Linked DNA regions of Homo sapiens: all the other regions are linked to region 1. Evidence: promoter capture Hi-C in 16 types of primary human blood cells and fetal thymus (Javierre and others, 2016). All regions are on one chromosome and are shown on one strand. The core of a region is centred on a gene start or on the middle of the fragment in contact, and the rest is flanking DNA. Distances in the headings are between cores, read along the strand shown. Region 1 holds the start of AMER1 (APC membrane recruitment protein 1). Region 2 overlaps ARHGEF9 (Cdc42 guanine nucleotide exchange factor 9). Region 3 overlaps ARHGEF9 (Cdc42 guanine nucleotide exchange factor 9). Region 4 overlaps ARHGEF9 (Cdc42 guanine nucleotide exchange factor 9).

Region 1 (2,764 bases), core at 81-2,580:
GGGCCAGTCCAGCTGCCGCCTAGGCGCTTGGGCTGTGACGCATGTAGCGGGCACAGCCCCTCACCACCGGGGGAGCCAAGCAAAGTCCAGCGTTCGGGCGGTCACCAGTGTCAGAAGTGTCTCCAGCAGACAATGACAGGGGCCTGGCGGGCTGGGTATGTTAAGTAACTGCGAAGTTGGAGGGTTTGGCCACCTCGCTAGCTCTCCTGTACACAGAGATGGTATGATACGTTCCGTACTACAATGAGGGCTCCTTCGGCCTCTGGCAAGGAAATGCCCCCCAAACACCGTGCCTATTGCTATTTTTAAACGGGAGGCTGGAGAGGAAAACGCGGCCAGTATCCTCCAAGGGAAAAGGAGGTGAGGCGAGGCGAGGCGGGAGACAAAGCGGCCTTGCAGCTCTAACTCAAGGACTAGCTTGCGCCGCTGCTCTAACCCAAGGACCAGCAAGAGCCCGGCTGCCAGCCAGCCTGCCCGACCGCGGGGGCGGGCGCCAGATGCGCCCGGAGGCCCAGGAGGAGGGGCGCGGCTAGTTGGGGCCACAAGGCCAAGGTTCTGAAGGGAAGTGTGCGACTGAGCTCAGCCCACAGGCCCAACTGAGCTCCTCTGGGGAGGGGGCAGTCTGTGGATGTCCCAATCCACGCCAAAGCCGGTCTCCGTCGGGCCCAAGCCAGCACGCCAGCTTGAGTCCGCAGAAAGGAGGGAGAGGCTGGAGATGCACAGGGGAGGGGAGGGGCGGCAGCCAGGCAGCCGGAGAGAGGGGTGAGCGGTACCCGCGTTACACAGCTGTTCCAGCAAATGTGCTACAACAAAGCTGCAGAGCTCCTGGCCTACAAATGCATGGCTTGGGGTGCTGGCTGGCGGCGCCCTTCCCGGGACTGTGCGGCAGCACGTGCGGGCCCATCCCCGCCCCCCCGAAAGCCGGGAGGCTTGGCCCAGGCTAGCCTGCCTTCCTACCCGCCCTCCCCAACCCCCCTCCCCCCAGCCGTGGTCGCTTGTGCCCAGGGGACTCAAGGCCGCTCTGCCTCTCCACCCGACAGTCCGCAAAGCGGGTTCCAAAGGAGAGGGGCGAGCGACCGGGACTCCGACCCGCCTAGTCCTTAGTGCCCTCCTCCAGTCCGTAGGAGCAGAGCACGCGGGAATGCACCCGACCGCGGGCAGGCGGAGGCTCCTGGCTGTACGCAACGCTTACCCAGCCCGGTCAGGTTCCTAGCCCGGTTATTGTCCGCTGAGCCGCCCTGGGCCGGGCTGCAGCCTCGGCTGCCACGGCTGAGAGCGCCGCCACCGCAGCTGCTGCCGCCGTCGCCGCGGCTCCAGTCACCTCCAGCACTGACTCCCCTTCCCCAGGCTTTGGGTAGCTCCCCCATACCCCCTCCCCCAGTACTCCAAGGCCACCGGGTGGGGCATCTGCGTCCTGATTGGCAGGCATATGGCCCAATCGCTATGGTGGGAAGGCGTGCCCCGGCCCGCCCACTGTTTTCCTTGGTGCGTTTCTCTTTAAATGCAAATAAGTGCAGGCGTGGTGTTGGCAGGGGGCGGAGAGGGTGCGGAACCACTGGCTGGGGCTCCCCACTCCCGCCCCCACGCCGGGCTGGTAGTGGCGTGGCTACACCGTGGCCTCAAGGAGCCAGTCCTGCCCGGATGGGGCTCGCCGGATCGGTTTCGGTTTTCACGCACTCCCATTTCTGTGGCCGCTGTGCATTCGCGGTACTGTGCCCTGGCCGCCACCAGGACGTTTATTCCTGAGCTAGAGGCCGGCGGGGAGTAACGAGGCAGAGAGGTTGAGGAATCTGGGAAGACTGCAGAAACCTAAGGGCCGGCCTATCCTTAGTCGTAGAGACAAGGCCCTGCGGATCGCGCCGCCAGGCCACCCAGAGGAGGGACTCACCTGCCAGGAAAGCTAGCTGCAGCGCCTGCGCCCTAACTTCGTCCGCCTCTCTGGCACACCAGTGCCCTTAGAGACCATAGAGGCCAACTTCCACCCGTTACCGACGGGCCCTCTGCTGCCCAGAGTGGGGAAAGTCCCTCCCCACAGTTACCCAGCCTGCCGGCGACAAGGGCCAATTTGGAATCCAGAGCCCCGGGCTCCCTTTCCAGGATTGCTTTCACTTTTCTTCTCTGAGATGATACCTGTTTCCATAGTTTGACCCTCACCCAAATTTCGCACCTTCTATGGAATGTGGAGGGAATCCCCAAGGTCTCCAGAGTCCCCCTTCCCCCATCCTTTGTGAGCCTGGCTTTCGGCAGGCCTTTTTCCTTGAAAAGTCTAAATATTGAGAGGAAAATCTTGTCTGGGCCCAAACCGGAGGTCAGGCTGAGGACAAAGTGAGGAGGCCTGTACCAGCCTTGTCTGCTACTGTGTGTGGGATGTGGCAGGGAGCCCGGCGAACTTGGGTCTCTAGCCTAAGGACATTAAGTGGCATCAGTGGCTGCCAGGGCCAGGTGAGCTGAGGCAGCAAAGAATCTAGTTCCACCACTAGTTCAAGAATATCCAGAAGGCCCAGCCCTAAAACTCTGTGTGTGTCTAAAAAGGGAGGTGGGTGGATTAAAGCTGAGGATAGAGAGAAGGATTAGAGAACAATGCGTGCTATTTTTGCATTGCAGGAGTGTTCTCTGCTGCTTCTGGGTCCTGACAGTCTTGAAAAGATCCAGCTGCTGAACTGGTAAGAGGTGGACTGCTGCCTCTGCATGTGTAGAGCACAGGAACTGACATGGCTGCTAGGGATCTGACTCTAGCTCTACCTCAGACTTGCTGGACACCTTG
Region 2 (2,764 bases), core at 69-2,568, 470 kb before region 1:
AAAAAGGCATGTGTGTTTGCAGTGAGCTTGGGGTGGCCAGTGGACCCTTTCAGTGGGAACAGAAGAAGAAATGGGAAAGACAGAAGGAAAGTAAAAGAGTTATAAAGGGAAGGACGAAGCAAGAGAAGCTTATACTTGTAGAAAACATATGCTGCAAACTGGATAAAGGGCTTTCTTTTGTGATTTCAACCTCTATAATTCTCCAATGTAAGCATTAACATCTCCATTTTTACTGAAGATGACTTGTGAGATAAAACAAGTAACCCACAGTTACCCAGTTAGTAGGTGGTGGAGCAGATTTAAATCTCCAGTTGGCCTTACTCTACAGCTTTGCTATTTGCCAGTCCCCCATGGAACCAGTCAAATGGCAGGGAGGGGGACCAGCTCACCCTGTGAATGACCTACAGCAGTGATTCTCAGTTCCTCAGAGGTCTTGTTAAAACACAGGTTGCTGGGCCACATAGGCCTTGAGTATTGATTAGGTAGGTCTGAAGTGCAGCTTGAGAACCTGCATTTCAAATAGATCCCCAGGTGATACTGATGCTGCTGGTCTGGGAATCACATCTGGAGAACCACTGCCCTAATGGACTGTCCTAGTGTAGGCCCTACCCTTGCCTCTTCTGATGCCTCATTCTTCACAGATTTCCCCATGCCACACCATATGTTGTGCTCCCTGCCTCCAGCACTCCCTTCCTATCTACAAGGCCTTCCTCAGTTGTTGGTAAATGTCTGCAAAAGGGTATTTGGGGTCATGTAAGCAGCATGCCCAATGTCAGGCTGTGTTAACACAGGAAAAAACTTGGGATTATGGCTGTCACCCAGTCTTTTAGAGCCATGCCACTTATCTACAACTTCTTGTTCTTCCCCTCTAGTTCAACAGCACCACCCCCAAAATAGACATTTAATTAGCCTTGGTGGCTGTCAGAAATATTAGTGTTTTAATAAGAAGCAGCAGAAGGGAGAATGGGTTAAAAAATGTGAACCTCACATGTATGGAATAGCAAATATGCCAATTGCCATGAAGGTAGATGAGCTGGACCTGCCTTCCAAGAAGCTCCGTAGGAGGAAAAGGAGGGACATGACAGGGGTTTGCCTATGAGGTTTTCTCAGGTTGGTGTCTGCCCGTATCCTCTCAGAAGGCCCCCTTCTCCTGAACAGCTAAACTTGGGCAAGAGCAAATTATTTTCCCTTGCTCCCTTAAGCATATCTAAAACAAGCTGAGATTTTATGCTCTCTCCTGAAAAAGCTAGATTCCTTTTAATACAGCCTTGAAAACGCTCTGGCTATCTTGCCCAAAGTGTTGAAGGATAATCATCCTCCCTATTTTTGGGAAGGTGTGAACCAGGCTGCCCCAACAATAGCTATGAGGTACCATGGTGTACAGTAAAGACTCAGATTGGCTATTGGAAGAAAATCTGCCAGTAACTCACCAAATGATCTTGGACAGGTCCCTTTCCCTGTCTCAGTTTTTTTTTTTTTTTTTTTTTTTTTTAGATAGAGTCTTGCTCTGTTGCCCAGGCTGGAGCGCAGTGGTGCAATCTCGGTTCACTGCAACCTCCACCTCCCGGGTTCAAGTGATTCTCCTGCCTCAGCCTCTAAAGCAGCTGGGATTACAGGCATCTTCCACCACACCTGGCTAATTTTTTGTATTTTTCGTAGAGACAGGGTTTCACCATGTTGGCCAGGCTGGTCTTGAACTCCTGACCTCAGGTGATCCGCCTGCCTTGGCCTCCCAAAGTGCTGGGACTACAGGCGTGAGCCACCGCACCCAGCCCGTCTCAGTTTTTTTACATGTCAAGTGACAGACTGGAACCATACAGATGACCTCTCAAGTCCCTTCCAGCTCTGGTATTCTACTGAGGCTAACACTTACTCTGCAAAGGACGGGGATGTCATTATTGCAGCTTAATTCTCCTCACCCTTCTTTGTGCTTGATAGGATGCTTTTACTGCTTTCTGCTCAAAAAAATGAGAACTTTTTCCTGAAGATAACTCACTCAAGCATTGCTGGCAACACAGTCAGACTACCTGGGAAAATTGAGAAGTGGGCTTCCCACTTAAACCCTTGACTGCCGCATTCAAAAGTCAATAGGGACCTTTGCTTTTTGTTCTCTCCACTTAGTTCTTCAGATGAATCATCCTTCTCATGACATCAGTTCTCGCTCACCTCCAGTCCCATATTTCCTACTGCCTGCTCCACATTTCACTGGATGGCCTGCTACCACCTCCAATAAAATGCAAAATTCATCATATTCCCCCATTCTCCCTCCTTCTCAATTTTTCCCATTTAAGGAAAATCTTCTGGCCCTGCTATTTCTTTCTTCTTCATGTCTCTCCCTCTCAGATACAACGCATTCTCTTCATTCCCACTGTCTTATCCTGGTCCTCATCAGCTCAAACTGTCTCCCAACCGGCTTCCTTGGCCCTTACAGGTCTGTCCCTTCCTCAAGCTATGCCTTAATGATGCGAATCTTAAAGCATTTTTGCTAGTATCACTCCTCAAGCTCAAGAAGCTTCAGTAACTCCCCACTATCTCAAAGCTCTCCTTAATCTAGCCTCATCTCTGGATCCAACCTTTACCTCTAACAAGGCAGGGGCTTTCCACCACTCTTGTCAAAATGAGTCTCTTGCATCCTTCTCATGACATCAGCTGTCACTCACCTCCAGTCCCACATTTCCTACTGCCTGCTCAACATTTCACTGGATGGCCTGCTACTGCCTCCAATAAAATAATGATCAATCCTACTTCTGTGCCTCTGATTTGG
Region 3 (2,764 bases), core at 186-2,685, 460 kb before region 1:
TATTATTAACCAAGTGAATGGCTACTTAAAATACTGCAGGAAGGGGCTCTGAGCTGTCAAAGCAATCCATCTTTTTCAGACCTATGAGACTGGTATTATATCTATGAGAGGCAATTCTCAATTATCCATGACATATCTCTTTAATAAACAGAATCCCAAACTGGCATACCCTAGCTACTCAATTCACTGTACCACTTCCTTCCCTGTTTGGCAGCCAATGCGTGTTCATACAGTCTCCTTTCCTGCTTGGCGGCCAGTGTGTGCTCAAAGAATACAACCTAAGTTCACTTGTTCTAAAAGAAACCTAAGCCAAGTATAATTAAGAAGGCAAAACTGCTATCCTTAAAACCACTCTGTGTATTCTAAACCTGCTAAAATGGATCTCTGGATTACCTGCTAGATTTAAATAATATCTGTACTCGTGTTGATCATTAATATTAATCACAAAATAAGCACATATTGTTGGAGCTAGAAGAAATCTTTGAAGTCATCAAATCCACCTATCCTTATTTTGCTGATGAAGAAAACCAAATTTCAGAGGAGAGAAGTAATTTGCCTGAGGTCACTAGCAAATGAGCAGAATCTTCCCCATCATTACAGCAAATGTGTAGGAACTGACTTTTTTTTTATTCCTGAAGTGTTCAAACCATCTCACAGCTGATTATTTTAAATACAATTAGGTCTCCAGACTACTCATTCCCTAGGGTTGATTCCTCCTTTTTAGAGTGAGCACAAGCCCCTGGGACTTATCGAGGCTCCCACAGTCCTAGAATAAAATTTCACCATCTGTGAAGCTTGCCTAGTCACATGTGTGATAAGTCAGACAGGCTGAGCTAACATTTCCTATGAAGCATTCCATAGCAGTCATTCTCACCCCTGGCTGAACATTCCCATCACCTCAGGGAACTCTTAGAAAAATATTGATGCCAGGAAACCACTATGATCAACTCAATCAGATCTCTCCCAAAGATTCTAGGAATTGTTGTTACTCTTAATATTCCAGGTGATTCCGATGTGCAGCCAGTGCTGAGAACCACTGGGTTAATGGAAACAATTAAGCAAAACAACAAGAGAAACATACACAAAGAATTTCCGGAACTCTTTGAGCACAAAATATATTCTGTTTTAAAGCTAAATCCATTATGTCCTGCTTTTTCAAAGAGGAGAAAGTAATACACAGAAACTACAGTTGTAGTACTGACCCTCAGCCAAGTTCTGAACCCAGTTTAGAAACATTTGCATTGTAGGCACAGAAAGAAAACAAGAAGCTCTGGAGCCTGCAACCAGATTTACCATGAGTAAGAGGCCAAGTAACTTATACTGCTTTTTCTGATGGGGCTATCAGTTTGGCAGATGCTTGCTATGAACCTAGCATATCTTGATGCCCACAAAGCATACAACAAATCTATCGTGCTATGTTATTCACATTAACACCCTGGTAGGATAAATGCTGGCACAACCAGGTGCAGTCTGCACTGGTTGACCAGATACATACAAAAATTAACAAGTCCCAACTCCAAGAGGGGCTCTGGTGAGGTGACAGAAGAGCTAGCATTAATCATATCATAGTAAACATTTCTTTGAATCAACGACTCGAATGCCATTTATTTGGTGTTCAAATAATGCAACACTAGAAGAGGCTGCTAACCTGTTGTGTGACATGAAGAAAAAAAATAAAAACCTCCCAAAGGCTAGAACAATAGTCCAACCAAACAAATAGAATTTAACTGATGCAGTGCTAGAAGGGACTGCTAATTTGTAGCACAGCATGAAGAAAAAATTTTAAAATCCACAGAAAGCTAGAATAATGGACCAACATGTCAAGATAAAATGTAGCAAGTTTGGTTCAAAAAACCCTGAAGTGGCCAACTTCACAAGAGAGTAGAGGACTGGACTAGACAGTAAATGGTTTGGACCTACATGCTCAAAAGGCTAACTCTTAACCCTGGCTGCACATTTGAATCACCTTAGGGAACTTTAAATTAAAAAAATAAATAAATAAAGCTCCCTGGGATCTAGCCCATGAAAATTAAATCAGAATCTTTCAGATAGGGGACCTGGCATGGGTATTTAAAAAAAAGCTTCCCAAGTGATCTGAATGTTCAGTGAGGGTTGAGAATCAGTAGAAGGCTGCATTATTAGACATTTCACAGACAAAACAAAGTTCTTTTGCACTTGATCTCAGTCAGGTGGCACCTAGAGTAGCATGAACAGTTCTAGGCAGCAGATTTTTAAAGAAATATAGAAAAATAAGTGTGCTTCAAAGAGAAGAACAATTGTATTAAAACTACAGTTCCTTGAAAACATTCTGTATTTTAGGCTTCAGCAATTCACACTGGCCTCTCACCTTGAAGATCCCAAATAGTGAGTTTTCATAAAACTAAACAGAACTCTTTGATGCATATTCAAGACAAAAAGGCATTTTATAGAATGAAAATTCTGAGCAAAAGTGCTATACAAATGAAAGTTATTAAAAATGTGAGTAGCTGAGGAAGCTAGTATGACTTCAGGGATGACTCCCAAATCTCCTTTCTTTCTTTTGTTTCCTTTTCTTTCTTTTTTTTTGGGACGGACTCTCGCTCTGTCACCCAGGCTGGAGTGCAGTGGCATGATCTCGGCTCACTGCATCCTCCGCCTCCTGGGTTCAAGTGACTCTCCTGCCTCAGCCTCCCAAGTAGCTGGACTACAGGCGTGTGCCACCACGCCCGGCTAATTTTTGTATTTTTAGTAGAGACAGGGTTTCACCATGTTGGCCAGGCTGGTC
Region 4 (2,764 bases), core at 198-2,697, 440 kb before region 1:
TCACTGCCTTTACATACCCCAATGTATGCACCTCACAAACACTCAAAGGACTTCTCTGAGTTTTCATCCTCTCTGGAATGTACAATGGTGAAAGAAGAAAGGGCAAAAGTCATTTGAGTCTTCTCAGCGTATGAACTGAGTGTCCCTCTCCTCCATGCCCTACCTGCATTTTCCTCACTAAAGAACTGTGCCCCTCTATCTCCCATCTTGTGTCTCTGCATGTGCGTGCCTAACCTCAGCTGAGCCATCCAAGACCCCTGATCACCAACCCTAGTCCCCCACGCGGCCCCTCATCCACTCCGACAAGATGAAAGAAACAATCATGGGCCAGGAAAACCCACCAAACTGCAGGAAAGGAACTGCTCACAGAAAGAAGGAGGTGGTTCATAAAACAGCCACAGCAGATGATTAAAAACTTCAGTTCTCCTTAAAGAAGTTAGAGGTAAACACTGTCTCTGGTATTGAAGAGGTGAATATGTTTACAAACCAAGGAACAGTGATCCACTTTAACAACCCTAAAGTTTAGGCATCTCTAGCAGTGAACACTTTCACCATTACAGGCCATGCTGTGACAAAGCAGCTGACAGAAATGCCATGCAGCATCTTAAACCAGCTTGGTGCAGTTTGGCTAGTTTAAGGAGACTGGCTGAAGCTCTGCCTAAACAATACGTGGATGGAAAGCACCACTTGCTACTGGAGAGGATGACGATGATGAAGTTCCAGATCTTGTAGAAAATTTTGATGAGGCTTCCAAGAATGAGGCAAACTGAATTGAGTCAACTTCTGAAGAAGATAAAACTTGAAGAAGTTACTGGGAGCTGCTATTTTATATTATGACTGCTTTTAAAAAATTTTTGTTTATGGATCTGATAAAATCTAGTTCTGTAATATTTTTAAGCCCAAGCCCCTTGGACACTGCAGCTGTTTTCAGTTTTTGCTTATAAACAATTCACCCTTTGCAGCTAATTAAGATGAAGAAGCCTGGGAATAAAGTTTGAGACAAAGGTTAATAAAGTTCTTTAGTTAAAAAAAGAAGAATTGTGCCGACCTCATAAGATTGTTGAGAAGATTGTATTAGATACACATGCAAAAACATTTAGAACAGTGCCTGGCACAAAATAAACGCTGGCTTGGGAAAGGTAAGCTATCTTTCTTAAGACATACTGTATTTATAACCTTATTCCTGGTACCCCTCACCTCTAGAATGAAGGAGGCTGGGCAGCGTTCACTCCTGGCAAGTGAGAAGAGTAATGACCAAATAACTACTATGGTGTTACACACCTGGTTTTCATTCTGGCTCTGTTTGGAGATAGTTGCATGGAGAAGATATTCCCCCTCTTCCAGCCTTAGTTTCCCCACCTTTAAAGTAGGGAGAGTGTTGTTGTGAGGATTACATGAATTCATGCATGTCAAGGCACTTTTTCTTTATTTCAGTAGCTTTTGGAGAACAAGTGGTTTTTGGTTACATGGATGAATTGTATAGTGGTGAAGTCAGATTTTAGTGCACCAGCCACCCAAGTATTGTACATTGTACCCAATATGTAGTTTTTTATTTTTTGTCCTCCAACCCTTCCCCTTCTGAGTCTCCAATATCAATTATACCACTTTGTATGCCTTTGTGTACCCATAGCTTGGTTCCCACTTATAAGTGAGAACATACAGTATTTGATTTTCCATTCCTGAGTTACTTCACTTGTAATAAGAGCCTCTAGCTCCATCCAAGTTACTTCAAAAAACATTACTTAGTCCCTTTTTATGGCTGAGTAGTATTCCACGGTGTTTATATACCATATTTTCTTCATCCACTCATCAATTGTTGGGCACATAGGTTAATTCCATATCTTTGCAATTGTGAATTGTGCTGTGATAAACATATGTGTGTGGGTGTCTTTTTGATATAATGACTTCTTTCCCTCTGGGCAGATACCCAGTAGTGAGATAGCTGGATCAAATGGAAGATCTACTTTTGGTTCTTTGAGAAATCTCTATACTGTTTTCCATAGAGGTTGTACTAATGTATACAATATTGTTTGACTCTGTGTCACCAGGCAAATTTTACCTTTAATTGTAATAATTCCCACATGTTAAGGGAGGGGACAGGTGGAGGTAATTAAATCATGGGGCAGTCTCCCCCATATGGTTCTTGTAATAGTGAGTGAGTTCTCATGACAGCTGATGGTTTTATAAACATTTGGCATTTCCCCTGCTGGTACATTTTTTCTTTGCCTGCCACCATCCACTTAAAATGTAACTTGCTCCTCCTTGCCTTCCACCATACTTGTAAGACCTCCCCAGCCATGTGAAACTGTAAGTCCAATTAAAACTCTTTCTTTTGTAAATTGCCCAGTTTCAGGTATGTATGTATCAGCAGTGTGAAAACAAACAAATACAGTAAATTGGTACCGGGAGTGGGGTGCTACTAAAAAAAAATCCCAAAAATGTGAAAGAAACTTTGGAACTGGGTAACAGGCAGAGGTTGAAACAGTTTGAAGGGCTCAGAAGAAGACAGGAAAATGTGGGAAAGTTAAAAACTTCCTAAAAACTTGTTACACGGCTTTGCCCAAAATGCTAATAGCAATATGAACAATAAAGTCCAGCTGTGGTGGTCTCAGATAAACATAAGGATCTTGTTGGTAACTGAAGCAAAGGTAACTCTTGTTATGTTTTAGCAAAGAAACTGGCGGCATTTTGCCCCTGCCCTAGAAATTTGTGAAACTAAACTTAAAAAAAAAAATTTAGGGTATCAGGTGAAAAAAAAATTCTA

The links. The method cuts DNA at HindIII sites, captures the fragments that hold promoters and counts their contacts. A CHiCAGO score of 5 or more calls a contact.
Region 2: a contact is called between a fragment that was not itself captured here and the fragment with the promoter of AMER1 in region 1, in 1 of 17 cell types (monocytes). The highest score is 5.4, in monocytes.
Region 3: a contact is called between a fragment that was not itself captured here and the fragment with the promoter of AMER1 in region 1, in 2 of 17 cell types (non-activated CD4 T cells and fetal thymus). The highest score is 7.4, in non-activated CD4 T cells.
Region 4: a fragment that was not itself captured here is called in contact with the fragment with the promoter of AMER1 in region 1 in 2 of 17 cell types (M2 macrophages and monocytes); the score reaches 5.3 in M2 macrophages.

Annotation. Positions count from the first base shown.
Region 1 is chrX:64,204,378-64,207,141 of GRCh38, forward strand. It overlaps AMER1 (APC membrane recruitment protein 1), which reads right to left and starts at 1,331. Exons shown (of 2, transcript NM_152424.4): 1 at 1,193-1,331. It overlaps LOC112268307, which reads left to right and starts at 1,569. Exons shown (of 4, transcript XM_047442706.1): 1 at 1,569-1,707; 2 at 2,605-2,663. The coding sequence starts at 1,642. RefSeq lists silencers at 438-497, 1,478-1,577 and an enhancer at 1,708-1,867. The HindIII fragment of the contact is 4,951 bases long and covers 1-2,764 here.
Region 2 is chrX:63,730,087-63,732,850 of GRCh38, forward strand. All of the region lies in intron 1 of ARHGEF9 (Cdc42 guanine nucleotide exchange factor 9), which reads right to left. Among named protein-coding and RNA genes, the nearest start is that of ARHGEF9, 54 kb to the right of the region's middle. The HindIII fragment of the contact is 2,384 bases long and covers 127-2,510 here.
Region 3 is chrX:63,746,685-63,749,448 of GRCh38, forward strand. The region is part of intron 1 of ARHGEF9 (Cdc42 guanine nucleotide exchange factor 9); the gene reads right to left. Among named protein-coding and RNA genes, the nearest start is that of ARHGEF9, 37 kb to the right of the region's middle. The HindIII fragment of the contact is 1,287 bases long and covers 793-2,079 here.
Region 4 is chrX:63,766,568-63,769,331 of GRCh38, forward strand. The region is part of intron 1 of ARHGEF9 (Cdc42 guanine nucleotide exchange factor 9); the gene reads right to left. It also overlaps the pseudogene BTF3P8. Among named protein-coding and RNA genes, the nearest start is that of ARHGEF9, 17 kb to the right of the region's middle. The HindIII fragment of the contact is 4,403 bases long and covers 1-2,764 here.